Linked DNA regions of Homo sapiens: region 2 is linked to region 1. Evidence: promoter capture Hi-C in human tissues and cell types (Jung and others, 2019). All regions are on one chromosome and are shown on one strand. The core of a region is centred on a gene start or on the middle of the fragment in contact, and the rest is flanking DNA. Distances in the headings are between cores, read along the strand shown. Region 1 holds the start of ERGIC1 (endoplasmic reticulum-golgi intermediate compartment 1). Region 2 overlaps RPL26L1 (ribosomal protein L26 like 1).

Evidence for each region. Contacts are between HindIII fragments. The study calls those that stand out against the background at their distance.
Region 2: a contact is called between a fragment that was not itself captured here and the fragment with the promoter of ERGIC1 in region 1, in 1 of the 25 tissues and cell types used here (hippocampus).

What each region holds. Positions count from the first base shown.
Region 1 is chr5:172,831,982-172,835,842 of GRCh38, forward strand. ERGIC1 (endoplasmic reticulum-golgi intermediate compartment 1) reads left to right here and starts at 2,270. Exons shown (of 10, transcript NM_001031711.3): 1 at 2,270-2,452. The coding sequence starts at 2,433. RefSeq lists silencers at 2,123-2,522, 2,893-2,942, 2,953-3,032 and enhancers at 3,016-3,861, 3,503-3,712. The HindIII fragment of the contact is 25,389 bases long and covers 1-3,861 here.
Region 2 is chr5:172,968,685-172,972,545 of GRCh38, forward strand. It overlaps RPL26L1 (ribosomal protein L26 like 1), which reads left to right. Exons shown (of 4, transcript NM_016093.4): 4 at 729-1,087. The coding sequence ends at 857. Among named protein-coding and RNA genes, the nearest start is that of RPL26L1, 11 kb to the left of the region's middle. The HindIII fragment of the contact is 7,277 bases long and covers 1-3,861 here.

The sequences.
Region 1 (3,861 bases), core at 1,020-3,519:
ATAGGGGACTGGCCTAGTCCATGAGCATTGGGGCAGTCAAGTAGCTAGCCAGGCTGCATAGGTGTATCAGCATTGGGTTTAGGTGTAAGTGTCTGAAAATACAGAATAACAATAGCTTAAATAAGATAGATGTTTGTTTCTCTTGGGCAGGTGTTTGAGGACAGGTATTTTGCCACTTAGAGACAGGAACTCAGGTTTTTTTTTTTTTTTTTTGAGACAGAGTCTCACTCTGTCGCACAGGCTGGAGGGCAGTGGTGTGATCTGGGCTCACTGCAACCTCTGCCTCCCAGGTTCAGGCGATTCTCCTGCCTCAGCCTCCTGAGTAGCTGGGATTACAGGCGTGTGGCACCACGCCCGGCTAATTTTTGTATTTTTAGTAGAGACAGGGTTTCACCACATGTTGGTCAGGCTGGTCTCGAACTCCTGACCTCAGGTGATCCGCCCACCTCGGCCTCCCAAAGTGCTGCAATTACAGGTGTGAGCCACTGTGCCCGGCAGGAACTTAGGCTCTTTTTGTCTTGTTGCTCTGCTCTGTGGTGGCCTCCACCTTATGGTCCAGGATGGTGACGCCTACATTCCTGGCAGCCAGATGGAGAAAGGGACACAGAGGGTAAAGCAGACATACCAACTATCCCAGATGCCCCACAAGACACTTCCCTTTACTTCTCAATGCCACATCTAGCTACAAAGGAAGCTGGGGAAATGCAACTTTCACTGTGAGCACCCACATGCCCAGCCAAAAGTTGGGAGCTCTATCCCCACTCGAAAAGAGCAATGATAGTCAACCCTGTCTTGCATTTACTCTGTGCCAGGCATTTGCTGACCTTGGATATCATCCCAAATGCACACTTGATTCAGTAGGTCTGGCCTGGGGACAAGAGTCTGTCCTGTGATGGCCATGTGGCTGGTCTGTGGACCACAGTTTGAGGAGGGAGGATTCGAGGTCAAAGATCCATCATTGCATGTTTCCTCCCACACAGGGCCAACGAATGGCTGTTTGGAAGCAGTGGCTGCTCAAGATCCCTTAACTCTCCCTGCTGTCCCTAGGTTTCCAGTTCAGGCTGAGATTTCCTTTTCTCCCCCAACAGTGTCAGACCACTGACACTGAATGAATGAATGAATGAATGAGTGAATGAATGAAAAGGGAACGCAGAGGTCAGGTCCCGGCATATGCTCTAGGGGAAGGCTTTGGTTCACCACGTCACCCTACCCCAGACCCCGTGCTAGTGTTGTCCCTTCTGAATCCTCCCGGAGGAACCAGCACTGCTGTTCCCCTCTATTTACACAGGGGGAAACTGTCCATTGACTCTGCTTTTGGAACCCGAGCCCTCACCATTCTCCCCTGGGTTTTTTGAAGCCCTGTCCCACCACAACCTTGGAGAAAGGGCCAGTGACAGAACCTCGGGGAAGTTCAGAGTGAGTTTCCCCTACTCAGGTCTTGTGTGACCTCAACTACCATCTCCTCTAATCCAGCAGTCACGGAGGCAGCTGCTCTGTATTCCTGAGGAGGAAACTGAGGCTCTAAGAAGGAGACAATCGGCACAGTCCACGTTGGCCAAGTCACAGTGCAGGTCCCATCTGCCTCTGCCACAACCCTGCATGTTCTCGATGGACCTGGTTCAGAGCAGATGCTCTGTGAATGCCCACTGGAGTGAACGACAGGGGCAGATGGAAGCAGGGACAGCCACTGCCAGCCTCAATAGTTTCAGGTGCCTGGCACTGTGCTAAGCCAGTCTCCTGTTTCTCAGCTGATCCCCAGGAAAACCCCCTCAAGTAGGTGTCATCGTCCTCTTTGTGCAGATATGCAAAAGGGGCGGGGCGGGGGGGGGGCGCTCTGAGAAGCCCAGTGGCTTTCCCAGAGAGACACGGCAGGGGCAGAGGTGAGTCCACCTTAACAGCCTAGGATGGCCGACCTCTTCCCTTCCCCCACAGTATTAGGCCCTCACTCAGAGCTAGACGCTGTGCACGGCCAAAGTCTGTATCACCCCGCCCCCCGCCCCCAACTCAATCACAGTTCAGTGAAACTGTTTACAAATGCAAAAAACTGGGCTCGGAGAAGCAGAGAATTTGTCCGAGGGCATCCAAAGAGATGGAGAAGGAAATCTAAGTGGGAGGCTTGAAGGAATGAGTACTGGAGTCTTTGGGGGACTCCCTTCCCTTCCGACAGCCTCGACTCTCCGCCCCTTCCCTGCCTGCCCGCGGGCCCCTTTAACCGGGTGGCGGAAGGGGCGGCCGGGCGGGCGGCGCCCAATGGGCTGCGCGGAGCGTCACTTCCCGGCAGCGGGAGGCGAGTGGCGAGTGGCGAGTGGCGAGTGTCAGGGGGGCGGCCGGCGGGGGCGGGGCGGCCGGAGGAGGCGTTGGCAGCGGGCTCGGACCCACGCGGCGCCGCGGCCCGCCTGGCCTGCAGCGCTCCCACCCCCGGCGGCGGCACGATGCCCTTTGACTTCAGGAGGTGAGTGTGGCGACCCCGGCCAGTCGGGAGTTCCCTCAGCGGGCAGAGGGAGCGCCCCGGCACGCCGCGGACCCCTCCCGCCCTGCATGCAAAAGCGGCTCCCCGCCCTGTGCATGCCTCCGCAGGCCCCTAGGGACCCCAGGCGAGCCCCCCCCCTGCCGCACACGAAGCCAGCCAGAGCCGCGGAGGCCCCCTCGTGCAGCGGGAGACAAATCCACCCACCTTCCCTCCGCCGAGCCCCCTCCCCAGCCTGCCCGGATACCTTGCATTCCCCTCCCCCACACTAGGAAACATTTCCTCCCTCCTCCCAGATGGGAACAGCCCATAACACCCCAGCATCCCTCTCCTCCCTCTACTGAGCCTCCTTGGTGGACCCCACCTCAGCTGACAGGTGGGGCAGGGCACCTGGAATGAGTCCGGAGGGGCCTGGGGCCCCATGCAGCCTGCCGGCAGCTGGAGGGTTTTAAGTTTCTATAGCCTGAGGCTCCCCCAGGCCGGGCAGATCGGGAGGCCTGCCCCCGCCCCTCCCTCCCTCAGCCCCAGCCCTGTCCGCTGGGTATGGGGGCACCATGGGAAGGGGAGGAGGCGCCTTGGGCAGGACTCTGCAGAAGGGCCACCGGGGTCTGGCCTTGGCTTTCTGCAGTCACCACAATGGGTCCTTTGTGGGGTCCAGCTGCCTCATGGTCTAGGTTGCATGGGGCATTCTGGAAGCCTGCGGGGGAAGAGATCTCCACCAGAGGTTCCCTTGAGGTGTGGAGCCCCAGGGGATGTCCTGGCCTGAGGCAGCCACACTTGGTGTCTGGCTGGGAAAAGAGCAGGGCTTTAATGCAGGGAGGAGCTGGATTAGAATCCTGGCTCTGCCCTTTCTACTGAACAGCTCGGTATATTCTAGAAGTTAGGGGCAAAGGCTCTGGGTTCAGAACTCCCTGTCGCCGCTCGGCTGGCTGACCTCAGCAAGTCTCCGAGCGCCCTCAGTTTCACCACCTGCAAATTGGGGCTAAAAATAAGGTCTCCGCTTGTGACGACTGAGTGCGTGAAACACCCTTAGCAGAGTCTGGCATGATTTAGAGCTCAGAAATAGGGCATTAGTGGATGGGGGGTGTTCTCCAGGAGGGGTTTTCCACATCCACAAAATAGTGATTCAGATGCCTGTGCCACAGGAGGTATTTCTTCCCCTCTTCTTGCATGTGAAGGCAGTGTAAAGTGACAGTCTACCCAGAGAGAAAGGCCCTTAGCCTGCCATGACCCCCATAGCATGGGATATATTGGGGTTTAGGCCCAAAGAGGACACTGGTCTTGGACCTCTTGATTGGTTGACATGGTTTTCCAGCCTGTCCGGGTCCCTGATACCAGCTAGCAAATGTTTGCCGGCTTCTTGCCCCTGCCGGGCAGCCCTGAGGCTAGCAGAC
Region 2 (3,861 bases), core at 405-2,904, 140 kb after region 1:
AGTTGGCTGAGGCAGGCCAGGTGGACTTGATTGATTCAGTAGCTTTGTGATATCATCAAGGATCCAGATTTTTCTTCTCTTCTCTTTTCTGTTTTGCCTTTCTTGGTGATGGCTGTGTCTTTTTTTTTTTTTTTTTTTTTTTGAGACGGATGCTCGCTCTGTCACCAGGCTGGAGTGCTGTGGTGCGATCTCGGCTCACTGCAACCTCCACCTCCTGGGTTCAAGCAATTCTCCTGCCTCAGCCTCCCAAGTAGCTGGGACTACAGGCACACACCACCACGCCCAGCTAATTTTTATATTTTTAATAGAGATGGGGTTTCACCATGTTGGCCAGGATGGTCTCGATCTCCTGACCTCGTGATCCGCCCGCCTCGGCTTTCCAAAGTGTTGGGATTACAGGTGTGAGCCATCATGGCCGGCCGATGGCTGTGTCTTTAAGCTGGTTGCAAGAGGCTTCCAAGTGTTCTAGGCATCACTTCCCCTACCACATAATATTCAGAGGAATAAGAGAGAATATATCTTCCTGTAGCCCTCATGCCTACCTAGTGGAACATGCTATTTTTCCTTTGTGTTCCTATTTTGTATTGTGTTACAGGGTCTGTTTTCCTTCCAGAGTTTCAGTTCCTTAAAAGCTGAATGGCTGAGGTCTTACTTAACTTATGATGTCTATATTGCTCAATAGCTGGTGGGGATGCAGAAATAAAGACCTGTTTTCTCACTCCCAACAGGTGGTTATCACCAGGCTAAAACTGGACAAGGATCGGAAAAAAATTCTTGAACGCAAAGCCAAGTCTCGACAAGTTGGAAAAGAGAAAGGCAAATATAAAGAAGAACTTATTGAGAAAATGCAGGAATAAATAGAACCTGTTGTGCAACCACGGTTTAACCGGAGATTTTGAGGCTAGGGTGTGTTTCTTTCGAACTTTTCGGAATGTCTGGAACATTTCATTTCCTGTTTTGTTACCTGTGCCTCTGTAAATCTACTTTTGCAATTTTAAGTAATAATTTTATGAATAAAAATGGGAAATGCTTCCTAATTCCACATAGTATTTGCATTGTTTTATAAATAAATTCCACTTACTATCAATTCCCCTTTGCCAGTCTTTTCCTATTTAATGTGTGGAACAGCAAAATCGCAGGGGTAGGGTTAAATGGCCCTCCTCTTGCCTGGACTCTTGTGCTGATGAAGTAGAAAGGGCAGGGCTCTAGTCTTATATAGACAGGCCTCATCATCTTGCCCAGGCTGGTCCTGAACTCCTAGGCTCAAATGATCCTCCTGCCTTGGCCTCTCAAAGTGTTGGGATTACAGGCGTGAGCTGCCATGCTCTGGTCCTTGACACAGGGATTTGCCCCACTCAGTAGCAGTTGTAATGTGCACTGTCACATCTCACGCCTGACAGATTGCTCTCTGGCCTCCTGACTTGGGCTTCCCCAGCTTTCTCTCCAAGTGCCAACTAAACCAAATCATGTGCAGCTCCCTGACCAGGCTTATCTTCCCAAAGTTTTGACTTTGCAATTGCCATTTTCATGTGACTAAAAAGCCCCTTTTCCTCTGGAACTAACTTGAGAAACTGGCAGCCTACAGGAAAGATTTAACTGAGATACTGTTTTTCACTATATTTTCCAACATTTAAAATGTGGGAGACTCCACAGAGAATCACCTGCTTCACCTGGCTCCACGGGGCTCTCCCTGTTTTGCAGTGTTAAGTGCAGCCAAGGGCTTGGCGGTTCCCTATCCCACCTGCTCTGCTCCCATACGCTTCTTGCCTGGCCTCCATTGGCCTCCGCATTAGACTCCTGGTCTAACTTTCAAGCAACTAAATCTTCAAGATTTAGTTCCTTTGGCCAGGCACAGTGACTCATGCCTGTAATCTCAGAACTTTGGGATACTCGTGGGAGGATGGCTTGAACCCAGAAGTGTAAGACCAGCCTGGTTACTGAGACCCCACCACTACAAAAAAAAAAAAAAATTAATTTTTTTAATTAGAAAAAAAGATTTAATTCCTTTGAGAGGTATGTAGTGAATAAAAATTTTTAGAAAATGTATCTCCAGGGCCACATCCAAAATCCTCTGTCCCTGTGGGAAAAAAAAAAAAAACTTTTTTTGAGATGGAGTCTCCATCTTGCTTAGGCTGGAGTGCGGTGGCGCTATCTCAGCTCACTGCAACCTCCGCCTCCCGGGTTCAAGTGAACCTCCTGCCTCAGCCTCTCAAGTAGCTGGGATTACAGGCCTGCGCCACCACGGGGTTTCCCCATGTTGGCCAGGTTGGTCTTGAACTCCTGACCTCAAGTGATCCGCCTGTCTCAGCCTCCCAAAGTGCTGCAATTAACAGGCATGAGCCACTGCACCTGTCCTAAAAAAAAACACAAAAAAATTTTTTTCAAGAGAGGGTCTTGTTCTGTCACCCAGGTTGGAGTGCAGTGGTGTGATCTCAGCTCACTGCAGCCTTGACAGCCCAGGCTCAAGTGATCCTCCCACCTCAGCCTCCCAAGTAGCTGGGATTACAGGCATGTGCCACCACACCCAGCTAATATTTAAATTTTTTTGTAGAGATGGGAGTCTCAGTATGTTACCCAGGCTGGTCTCAAATTCCTGGCCTCAAGTGATTCTCCTGCCTTGGCCTCCCGAAGTGCTGGAATTAGACATGAGCCACCATGACTAGCCTAAAAAATAATAATGTATTGATTAAAATGTATCAAACAGCCTTTTATGACTTTCTAGTAATGGTTTATCTGACACACTGGAATTTCTTAATAAATGTTAATTGAATCAGTGTTGTTTCCCATTTTGACTGATGAAGAAAACAAGCTTAGGTTAACTGTCCAAATCACAGCATAAGAAATGAAGCCAAGATTTGAACCTGAGCCTGACTGCATCAAAAGGCCATTCACTTCCCACATTAGCCACTTATCTTTAGTCTTCCTTCCTTCACTCTTGTCAGCCTTTCACTGGAGTCTGATAAGAGACTGCATATTTATGTGGAACAGACAAGAACCTATGTGTTTGCAGCCGGTAGTGCTACTTAGGAAAGCATTATCACCAACTGTCCAGGTCTAATCCTAGCTCTGCCACTGGGCAGTCATCAGCCTTTGAGCAAGTTACTCATCTCTGGACTTCTAAACAGATGATAATACCTGCTCTGCCTTCTTATCTCATCGAAAATGCAAAGATAAAATGGCAAGATCAGATGGGCCGTTTCTGAGTACTCTTTGAAAGCTATGAGTATACAAATGTTAATTTCACTATCATTGTTCAGTTTACTTATATGTCCAATTCTGACATTCACTCTGCACTCAAAGAGGCAGTTATTTTTCAGAAAAGAAATCAGTGAGTTTGGCAGGGCGCAGTGGCTCACACCTGTAATCCCAGCACTTTGGGAGGCCAAGGTGGGTGGATCACCTGAGGTCAGTAGTTCGAGACCAGCCTGGCCAACATGGTGAAACCCCGTCTCTACTGAAAATACAAAAATTAGCTGGGTATGGTGGCGCACGCCTGAATCCCAGCTACTTAGGAGGCTGAGGCACGAGAATCGCTTGAACCCGGGAGGCGGAGGTTGCAGTGAGCCAAGATTGCACCACTGCACTGTAGCCTGGGAGACAGAGCGAGACTGCATCTCAAAAAAACAAAAAAAATCAGTGAGTTCAAAAACCACAAAACTCAAGATGTGTTCTCTGACTTGGCATTGATACACTGAACTCACTGATACAAGGTAGACAGATACTGTCCTGTCCCTGGAGTCAGACAGATTTGGGTTCAAATCCTGCTCTTGTTCTTGGGAGGTCATTTTTCTGATTCTCTGTTTTTCTATTTATGTAAAAAGCTGCCAGACACAGTGGCTCACGCTTGTAATCCCAGCACTT